Linked DNA regions of Homo sapiens: region 1 is linked to region 2. Evidence: promoter capture Hi-C in 16 types of primary human blood cells and fetal thymus (Javierre and others, 2016). All regions are on one chromosome and are shown on one strand. Each heading gives the region's core, a stretch centred on a gene start or on the middle of the fragment in contact. The rest is flanking DNA. Distances are from core to core; before and after follow the strand shown. Region 1 overlaps CLEC16A (C-type lectin domain containing 16A). Region 2 holds the start of PRM2 (protamine 2).

Region 1 (5,277 bases), core at 1,111-3,610, 170 kb before region 2:
CAGTTTATACTCACAGATTTCTTTCAGTTACTGCTTTATGGTCTGTCTGTTGAGACTGTGGCTGCGTGAGGGCCAGACCTTCATTTTCAGCCCTGCAGCCCTAGTACCTGGGACTGTGCTTGGCCCATAGTAGATACACAGTAACTGTTTGATGAATTAATAAATAAAGGAACAAATGTCATGTTATTTTTTCTTAATATGCTTAGTAAACTCTTTGTTCGTGTTATATTTTAAGTTCCAGTCCAGGTCTTCATTATAAGCTTCCAATTAAGGGCCTGAGTTACATTTCACTGAATAATGATAGGCAAAAACCTTCAGTTCTCGCAGTGATCTTCCTAGTGTCCCCAGTTCCTGGGCAACTATTTATAGTCCTAGGTGTGGCTTTAATAAGCCACCCTTGTTGATGGGTCCCCACCCTCCGCAGCCTCACCCCCAACAGTCCTCACTGCCCTCTTCCTCATATCCCAGCCCCAACAAAGGACAGGAGTTTCCCAAACTCACCATGTTCCCTCCTGCCTCTGGCCCATGGTACATGCCCCTTCCCTGCATGTCCTTGACTGTCGCACTCTGCGTGTCACACTCTGCGTGTCTTGTTCATTCTGTTTTCTCCCTACTGGGCTGTGAGGTCCTACAGAGCAGGGACTGAGCCTTTTATCTTGTCTCTCCAACACCTTGGATGTCCAAGGTAGGCATCCCTCCTCTCCACAGACGTCTAGTGAGCACATACCGTGTGCCTGGCCATGAGCAGTGAACAAAAATGACAAAAATCCTTGCCCTCATAGAACTAATGTTCTAGAAGATACTCCATAAAAGTTTCTTGAATGAATGGAGCTCCCTTTTTTATTTTGCCCTTCATGAATTTCATAAGTAGTTCGTGTACAAGTTCATTTTTTTCTTTTCTTTTCTTTTCTTTTTTTTTTGAAACAGGGTATCCTTCTGTTGCCCAAGTTGGAGTGCAGTGATGCAATTATGGTCACTGTAGCTTTGACCTCCCTAGGCTCAAGTGATCCTCCCACCTCAGCCCCCCGAGTAGCTGGGACCACAGGTGCACACCACCACATCCAGATAATTTTTGCTTTTTTTTTTTTTTTTTGTAGGGACACGGTCTTGCCATGTTGCCTAGGCTGGTCTCAAACTCTTGGGCTTGAGCAATCTGCCTACCTCAGCCTCCCAAAGTGTTGGGATTATAGGTGTGAGCCACCGCACCTAGTTCATTTTTAAAAGAATTAAAAACTCAGAGGGAAAAATAGTTTGAGATTCTCCATTTTTACCATGGCTGAAACGTAGTTTAAATAAGGCCATCTGATTGGGGGTGTGGTATTGTATTACACACAGCTGTGCTGATAAGATTGCGTTTCACTTAAATCACATGCTTCCAGAATGTTGCTCTGCTGCCCAAAGTTTATTAGTAATCAGTTTGAACACAAAAGATTAAAAACGTAAAGCAGGGAATTTGGTTTGTGAGGTATACGCTTTTGTTTAAGTCCAAAGGTACAGCTTGTCTCCACCAGAGGTCTCCTATATTTTACTGTTAATGTTTGAAGTATATTGAATTCCCACAAGCTAATTAAAAATCAGACTGCTGTGCCGGTAAGCATTCACTCTGTGAACTAATTTCTGCCAAACGGCTATAAATGTGTCCCCTGGTATGAAATTTAGACATTCTTTCCCATCAGAAAAGAGGCATGTGGTTTAGTCCCAACCGCTTCATTTGAGTGACAAGGAAGCTGAGGTCCACCTGGAAAGGTCGGTTGCCCTGACTGAGGCCACACAGCCTAGTAAGTGGCCCCACTGGGCATCAGACCCAGGCCCCTTCTCCATCTCAGCTCAGTGTTCTCCCCACCAAATCCTGCTGGTTCTTGCTGGGTGGAACTCAGAGAGCTGCTGTTACTCCTAAGTGCCAGGCACTATCCTAGCACCTTACAAACATCATTGAGTTTTCATAGTAACACTATAGGGACAGTATTGTTAATATCACCTCTATTTGCTGATGAGGTACCTGAGGGCCAGAGGGGAGACGGCAACAAGCCGAGGTCCCACACTGGTAAGGGGCAGAGCTCAGTCTAAAGCAGCAGGCGGCCTGGTCCTCACTGTGCCTTCACCACAAGGCTGAACTGTCCCTGGAGGCTGAAACTCAGGGACAGACACAGAGGGAGGGCCTGAGAGATGGGCAAGCGAATGCTCCCCGGACCTTCTGGCGGAAATGAGGTGAAGAGCCTCAAACCCCAGAGGTTTGGTGGAAAATGGGAGGCTAGTGCTGGGCCCACAAGGGTCAGATCCAAGAATATGCTGGGGAGGAGCCAGCAGTCCCCCCAGAGAGGCCCAGTGGCGCTGCTCTCCACCTCTGCTTGGCCCATTGCTGGGCTTCTTTCAAGATCAATTTAAAACATTACCTCCTGACTGGGCACAGGGCTCACTCCTGTAATCCCAGCACTTTGGGAGGCTGAGGTGGGCGGATCACCTGAGATCAGGGGTTTGAGACCAGCCTGGCCAACATGGTGAAACCCTGTCTCTACTGAAAATACAAAAATTAGCCAGGCGTGGTGGCGCATGCCTGTTGTCCTAGCTACTCAGGTGGCTGACACAGGGGAATCACTTGAACCTGGCAGGTGGAGGTTGCAATAAGCCAGGAATGCGCCATTGCACTCCAGCCTGGGCAACACAACAAAACTCCGTCTCAAAAAAATAAAAATAAATCACCTCCTGCAAGAAGCCTTCTCTGACCCTTGGGCTGTGTCATGGCCTGTCTTCCAGCAGTCTACATCCTCCTGGTCTTCCCCTGCTGTGGCTCTTGTCCCATGGCATGTAATTGTCACTTCTTTGGGCTCCCATGCTAGACAGGAACCCCTGAGGGACAAGTCTTACCCATCTCTGTGGTCCTCTTTGCCAAGCAGAGTCCAGCACCCCCAGAAATGTTTGAATGAAAAGTCTGAGGCAGTGATGAATGGGTGTACCGGTTCCATCTATGAAGCCTTTTCTTCCCCACAACTGGCCTATGTCGGAGGAGAATCTGGGTTGGATGTTAGCAGGAGAGAATGCCTCCTTGCTTAGAAGAGCCTTGAATGCCAGGCTCAGATCCATTTGACCAGAAGAGCTCCTTGAGGTCTGGCCAGCATCTGTGGGTACCAGGATCCCCCACAGATGTGTGTGGCACCCACAGATGCCTTCTCTAGCAGTGTTAGTAATATAGATCCCAGAGGTGAGTTTTGTTTTGGGGGGTTTTTTTGAGACAAGGTCTCACTCTGTCGCCCAGGCTGGAGTACAGTGGTACAATCTCAGCTTACTGCAACCTCTGCCTCCTGGGCTCAAGCAGTCCTCCTGCCTCAGCCTTCCAAGTACCTGGGACTACAGCCATGTGCCACCATACCCAGCTAATTTTTTTTTTATTAAAATTATCTCCCTAGGAGTCATAGAGATGGGGTCTCACTATATTGCCCAGGCTGTTTTCAAACTCTGAGCTCAAGCAATCCTCCCACCTCAGCCTCCCAAAGGATGGGATTACAGGTATATGCCACCACACCCAGCATATCCCAGAGGTTTTAACATATTCTCTAGACTATGTCCTCTGCCTGGGGACCTCACCCCCTAAGGAAGGAGAATACCCTGGGCCAGGATCTGCTCTCTGGAATACCCTTGTGTACTTTTCTGATGAGGTGCCTTACAGAGGAAATCCAAGGGAAAGAGAAGATGTAGCCCCATCTTCAAGAACTTCTCTCCAGAGGGAGGAAGGAGAGGTGGGCCCATACCACGAAGGTGGAGAAAAATCACAAGCCCTCTCTGCACCCCAGCTTACTTGTTCCCAACAGCATTCCTACAAAGTAGGGGTGTCCTCATTTTTCAGATAAGGAAACAGCCTCTGAAGGGTCACCCAGTGTAAGGATGCATCTGCCTTCTTCATCCCTGTAGCCCAGTACCCGACACACAGTAGCCCCATAGCCCTAGGCACAAATGGGGTAGAGAGACCCTGACCACATCCTGTGGAAGGTCCAGAGCAGAGCCATCACAGAGGGCTTCCGAAGACCAGGATACCCTTGTTCCTGGGCTGCTGGGCTGCTGAACAGCGGGGAAGAGGAGCTGTGTGAACCTAGATTCCATGTGACTTTATCTGGCTGCATAATGAGCTTAAGTATTCAGATCTTTTCTTGGAAATCTCAAGTATTCCATTTGGCTGCCTCACAGAGTTAGGCAATTTTATTTACTCATGCTAAACAGGGCCATTTTCAGAGAGGAAATTATGCAATGTACTATGCAAATGTGGCATTCCGAGAGCAGAGATAAGTGTGGTCACCGATGCATTGTAAGATGAGATCGTGTCTCTGGCAGCTGGGTGTCACTTGATAAGGGGATATGCCAGACTGTACTTGGAACTGCTGCTCCCTTGGACTCGGTTTCTGGTAATTGTGTTTTCACCAAGTTGTCAAGCTGTGAACTGCACGTATTGAAGAAGAGGAACAAGGAGTGAAGCTTTTGCAAGTTGCTCATCCTTAAGTAGACTTCAGCAGTCAGAGAGGCTGCCCCCATACATGTTCTGGACACATGGGAACAAGGAGGGTAAAATTCTCATCCTCCATTCTCCCAAGAAGAGTCTTAAAATTTGACACGGGGGAAAGATGAAGACACACAACTGGTTTTCCTGGCCACTGTGAAAACCAGTCACCTCATTTTACTAGACATGGCATGTGCCTTTCATACTGAGAGAAAGGAAGTAGCTGTGGAAAACCCCACCTTTGGAAGCAGACAGAGCTGAGCCCAAAGCTAGCACTTCCCCCAGCCTGTGGGTACCTGAGATTGAGGCACCCAGCCTCCCCAAGCCTTCAGCTCCCTGCCTGAAAATGGCACTTTCAGTTAGTTATTGCTCCTGGGCCGTGTACCAGTCACAAAGACAGCCAACCCTTCACACAGCCACTGCTCAGATAGTTGCTGAGTGAGCCAGTGACAGATTTATCCACCTCTATCTGTAAAGTGAGCATTGATACAGTGTCCTCAGTGGCCCTGAGTGTGCTGGGAGACATGAAGATTCTGCAGAGTTAAGAGATTCTGGAAAGAGTCCTACAGAGGGCTCCATCCAAACTCTTTCCATTCAAATCCTTGCTATTCAACTTGGGAACAAAATGGATCTTCACAATGATAGGATCCTGTAGTCATCACACAAAAGTGATATAAAGGAGGCCAGAAAACTAATAATTTGAGTGCAGATTCTGCATACTGACCAGTCACCTTGTGTCAAATCTGTTGTAATTTGCCTGAACTTCACAACAATGCTAGGAAGTCCATTTT
Region 2 (4,640 bases), core at 1,572-4,071:
GGGCAGGATGCTGACATCACAAAGGGAGCCCATCCCCACTTGGGAACCTGGGTCTGAGCCAACAGTTAACTCACACCTCAGCCACTGGCAGCTCCCAGCCCCCACAGGGGAGGTCTGCAAGGCTGAGCACTGGGGCCAGTTCGGATGCCACACCATAGTCCTCATTTGCCCTGGAGAAAGTTTCCCTTGTAGCTGGGATGGGAGTTAGGGATTGAATTTCTAGAAGCAGGAGGGGCACACACAGACTCCTCCCCACATCCCAGAAATCGCCAGCCAGAGAGAGCTGTCTCTGTTGAGTTTCTTGACTGTTAACCCTTGGAAATAAATCATCAAGCTGTGTGCTTAAAATGTATGCACTCTGTAAGCTCATAAAACTCAGGAACCCTTGGAAGTCTTCCTTCGGGGGCCTGAAAGTGTGAAATCTTCTTGAAAGGCAATGGCTCCTAAGCATTGTTTGTTTGTCCAAGGCATGGGAACAGGCCAGAAACCAAGCTGGGATGAACAAGGGGTTGCTTTGTCCCTGACTGATGCAAGATGGACACCACCAACCAGAGGCCACTCTACCCAGGTCAGGGTGGAGTGACATCCTCTTAAGTGTTTTGGGGCCACAGAGAAGACATCATGGAGCTGCCCCTTGGCAAGGTTCCACATCTGTGCAGCACAATTTCAGCATGGGGGGAGGGGGTTTAGGACTTTGTCTTTTATACATTGAAATGAGTCGTTTGTACACTGCAATGGTATTTTTTAAATATAAATTTTTTGAGGCCAGGCGTGGTGGCTCACACCTGTAATCCCAGCACTTTGGGAGGCGAGGCAGGCAGATCATCTGAGGTCAGAAGTTCGAGACCAGCCTGGCCAACATCGTGAAACCATGTCTTTACTAAAAATACCAAAAAAAAAAAAAAAAAAAAATTTGTTTAGCTCCTTCAGCTACTCAGGAGGTTAGGGAGGAGAATCAGTTGAACATAGGAGGTGCAGGTTGCAGTGAGCCAAGATCGCACCACTGCACACCGCCCCAGTGACAAGAGCGAAACTCCGTCTGTTTTTTTTTTTGTTGTTGTTGTTTTGTTTTCAGAAACTCGTTGCTTCCTAAAGATTGGTCATTTCTGAGCACCAGAAATCCATTTGCCAACATATGGATTGGATCTTGCCAGTCTTATCCCCCCAGTCCTCAGTGGCTATGGTTGGCTAAGGTTGGCACTCTCCGAAGTGCCCCCTTCCTGATCCTGGAATCTATGATGTAAGGATTGTGAGATGGGGAGGTTATCTTGGGTTGTCCAGAAAGTCCCTCAGTGCAATCACAAGGGTCCTTGATTTCAGACAGGAGGGAGGAGTGATGCAGCCACAGGCCGAGGAGAGCAGGCAACAAGGATCGGATTCTGCCTGGGTCTCCAGAGGCTTCAGCCAGCACAGGCCTCACACAGCGCAGCCCATTACTCTGCATTCATCTACTCCTTGCCTTTTGCCGTCTCTGTGCTGACCAAGTTGTTGCTGGAGCATGCCAGACCTGTTTCCCACCTCGAAGCTGTGGCCTGCACTGAGCAGTGCCCCCACCTCTGCCCCCACCGTTTACACTTCCAACCACCCAACACTCAAGATGGGTTGTGTTTTTAAACTGTGGCACACAGTAGGCATTTAAATATGGCCACAAGGTGCCTTGGCATCTTTGTGACTTAATTAGGACTCGATCTGTTCTAACCATTTTCTCCTTTCATGAGGTAGGATCAGGTTCTTCACTGGAGGGGGATCCAGACAGACTAATGTGGCCTTTGACACCATGGAAGGATGCACAATAGACAGGACAGCATCATAGGGTGGCCTCCCAGGCACAGTAACCCTCTCCTAGGTGTCCTGAGAGCATCAGAACTCCCGCCCTACCTGCCTCTGAGGAAGGGCTGCAGAGAAGCCTCTACCCGCCCTGGGCGTGAGGGAAGCCAGGTTTGTGTGATTCGTGCAAAGAAAACCCGACAGGCCAGCGAGTGTCTTGTCAAGCTTTATTGGGCAGGTGACTTTTGCTCGTTTCACTCAGATCTTGTGGGCTTCTCGGCGGCAACTCAGGGCTTGAGCATTTGATGTAGGGGAGTTGCTATGGCCTCACTCGGTGTTTCTTGGGCAGGTGACTTTCTCTTAACTTCCAGCTGGGGGCTTGAGCATTTGATGTAGGGGAATTGCTATGGCCTCACTTGGTGTTTCGGGCGACTTTTTCTTAATTTCCAGCTGGGGGTGAGGGGCCCAGGAAGCTTAGTGCCTTCTGCATGTTCTCTTCCTGGTTCTGCAGCCTTTTGGGAAAGAAAGTTCTGGTTGAGGGGGTCACCTAGGGACTCTGGGTGGGGACGGGGGTTAGGGGGCTGGAGCTTTTGTCAGGTGGGGTGGGTCCCCGCCTCCCTCCTGTGCCTGGGGTGGTCAGGGACATGCAGGGCAAGGCGGGGGCGCAGGCAGACCTCTGCGATGCCTCCTCCGGTGCCTGCAGGAGCGTCTTTTGCGCCTTCTGCAGGAGCGATGCTGCCGCCTGTGGATCCGGTGCAGCCTCCTTCGAGAGCAGTGTCTGCGCCTATAGTGAGACTGGCCATGGGTCCTCTCGTAGACCTCGACGTGCTCCGGGCTCAGCCCTTGCTCCTCTTGGCCGTGGTGTCCTTGCTCTTGCCCATGCAACTGCTGCCTGTACACCTCGTGCGAGCGTTCGCTCAGGCTCCTCACGCGGTATCGGACCATGGTGTTGGGAGATCTGGTGGCTCCTGGGCTGAGGCTGCAGTGGGCCCTGGAGTAGGGGAGGAGGGCGGAGGCCTGCCCACCTGCCCTTGGTGTTACTGTTGGTCTGGTCTGCAAGGCTCCCCGGGAGCTTGTATATAAAGGGGGCGCCCACTATGACTCTGCGGCCCCGCCCAGTCCCCACCCTGCCCAGCCTCCTCTGTGAGGGCAGCACAGGGCCAGGGGTCACAACTAGCAGGGCCCTGGCACCCAAGCTGCAGGGCTGGAAGGGCGAGAGACCCCCTTGCCTTGCCTGTAAAGCATGTCCTCTGTCTCTTGCAGTAGGTGAACCATACAGATGGCAGGTGTTTTATTGCCTAATCCAAGCCCTCATCTCCCCAAGCCGGTGGGTGCGCACATTGTCATTTGGAAGCTTCCTTGCCAACTCACTGCTGTGCCACAGCCACCATGTGGAAGGGACTTCCGTGCTTGGATCTCTGTGCACACAGCTTACTGTTAAGATGGCAACAGCAGCAAACAGTTCCCTAATAGCTCCTATGTGCCAAGCATTGATTCATTTATTTCCCATACATTCACTCATTCTCTCTCTCTCTCTCTCTCTCTCTCTCTCTCCTCTTTTTGTTTTGAGGCACTGTCTGTCGCCCAGGCTGGAGTGCAGTTGTGCAATCATGGATCATAGCAGCCTCTACCCCTCCAGCTCAGATGATCCTGCCACCTCAGCCTCCCGAGTAGCTGGGACTATAGGCGTGTGCTGCCACTCCCAGCTAATTTTTTGTATTTTTTGTGGAGATAGATAGGGTTTCACCATGTTGCCCTGGCTGGTCTCACACTCCTGGCCTCAGTGAGCCTCCCATGTCGGCCTCCCAGAGTGCTGGGATTACAGGTGTGAGCCACCACCCTTGCATTCCTCACTCTTACAATCCTCATTTTCTGTGGGGCAAACAGGCATGAAGAAGTTGAGTTGCTCAAGGCCACTCTGCTGAGAAGGCCAGGCCGGGCCAGCATTCAGACGGAGACAGCCTGGTTTTAGTCATACCCTTGGCTCTCCACCTCCTCCCTAGCCCAGGGAATGCTCCCCTCTCCGCCTCCAAAATATTCATCTTCTCCCCTCCCGCTCGGCCTTGCCGGGGCTTCTCATTGAACTTTGATGATCCCATTAAAGTCCGGGATCAGAATCACAGAAACTGCAAAACCAGTTTCCCTTTCATGGAGGGCAGGGAGAATGTGGGAATGTGGCAGATACACAAATTTAAGGACTTGAAGATGCAGAGATCATCCCAGATGATCTGGGTTGGCCCAGTGCAGTCACGAGGGTCCTTAGAAGAGAGAATAGGGAGGCAGGAGGGTCACAGGAAGAGAAACTGGGAGACACCACACTGCTGGCTTTGAAGATGGAGGGAGAGGCTATAAGCCAAGGGATGCAGGCGGCCTCTAGAAGCTGGGATGGACAAGGAAATGGGTTATCCTCCCCTCGTGCATCCAGGAGGAACACAGCCCTGCTGACCCCTTGATTTTAGCCCCATGAGACTTCTTTCAGAATTCTGACCTGCAGACCTGTAAGATAATGCATTTATGTTGTTTAAAGCTACAAAATTTGTGATGATCTGTCACAGTGGCAATAAGAAACAAATTCAGGAGGCTTAATCTTCAGATCCTTACAGGAGGTGATGGGTGATATTGCCATGCCCTTGGTGTTTCTATGCTGCCTCTCTTTAGGGATAAGAAGGTCCTTTATGATGGCCCTCAAGCTCTTCGAGGGCGCGTGTTAAAAATATGAATGCTGAGGCCTTACCCTACGTCCCGCTAAGTCAAATCTCCATGGCCAAAGCTTGCAGATGAAAATAAGAAGGGGCGGGGCAGGGCTCGGTGGCTCACACCTGTAATCGTAGCACTTTGGGAGGCTGAGGCGGGTGGATCACCTGAGGTCAGAA

The links. Contacts are between HindIII fragments. The CHiCAGO score rates a contact against its expected background, and 5 or more counts as called.
Region 1: a fragment that was not itself captured here is called in contact with the fragment with the promoter of PRM2 in region 2 in 3 of 17 cell types (activated CD4 T cells, naive CD4 T cells and naive CD8 T cells); the score reaches 8.0 in activated CD4 T cells.

What each region holds. Positions count from the first base shown.
Region 1 is chr16:11,100,901-11,106,177 of GRCh38, forward strand. All of the region lies in intron 19 of CLEC16A (C-type lectin domain containing 16A), which reads left to right. Among named protein-coding and RNA genes, the nearest start is that of SOCS1, 150 kb to the right of the region's middle. RefSeq lists enhancers at 4,052-4,101, 4,452-4,591. The HindIII fragment of the contact is 4,204 bases long and covers 259-4,462 here.
Region 2 is chr16:11,273,659-11,278,298 of GRCh38, forward strand. PRM2 (protamine 2) reads right to left here and starts at 2,822. Exons shown (of 2, transcript NM_002762.4): 1 at 2,442-2,822; 2 at 1,981-2,279. The coding sequence starts at 2,712. The coding sequence ends at 2,242. The region is part of intron 1 of LOC105371082 (a long non-coding RNA gene); the gene reads left to right. It also overlaps the pseudogene LOC124900380. The HindIII fragment of the contact is 881 bases long and covers 2,239-3,119 here.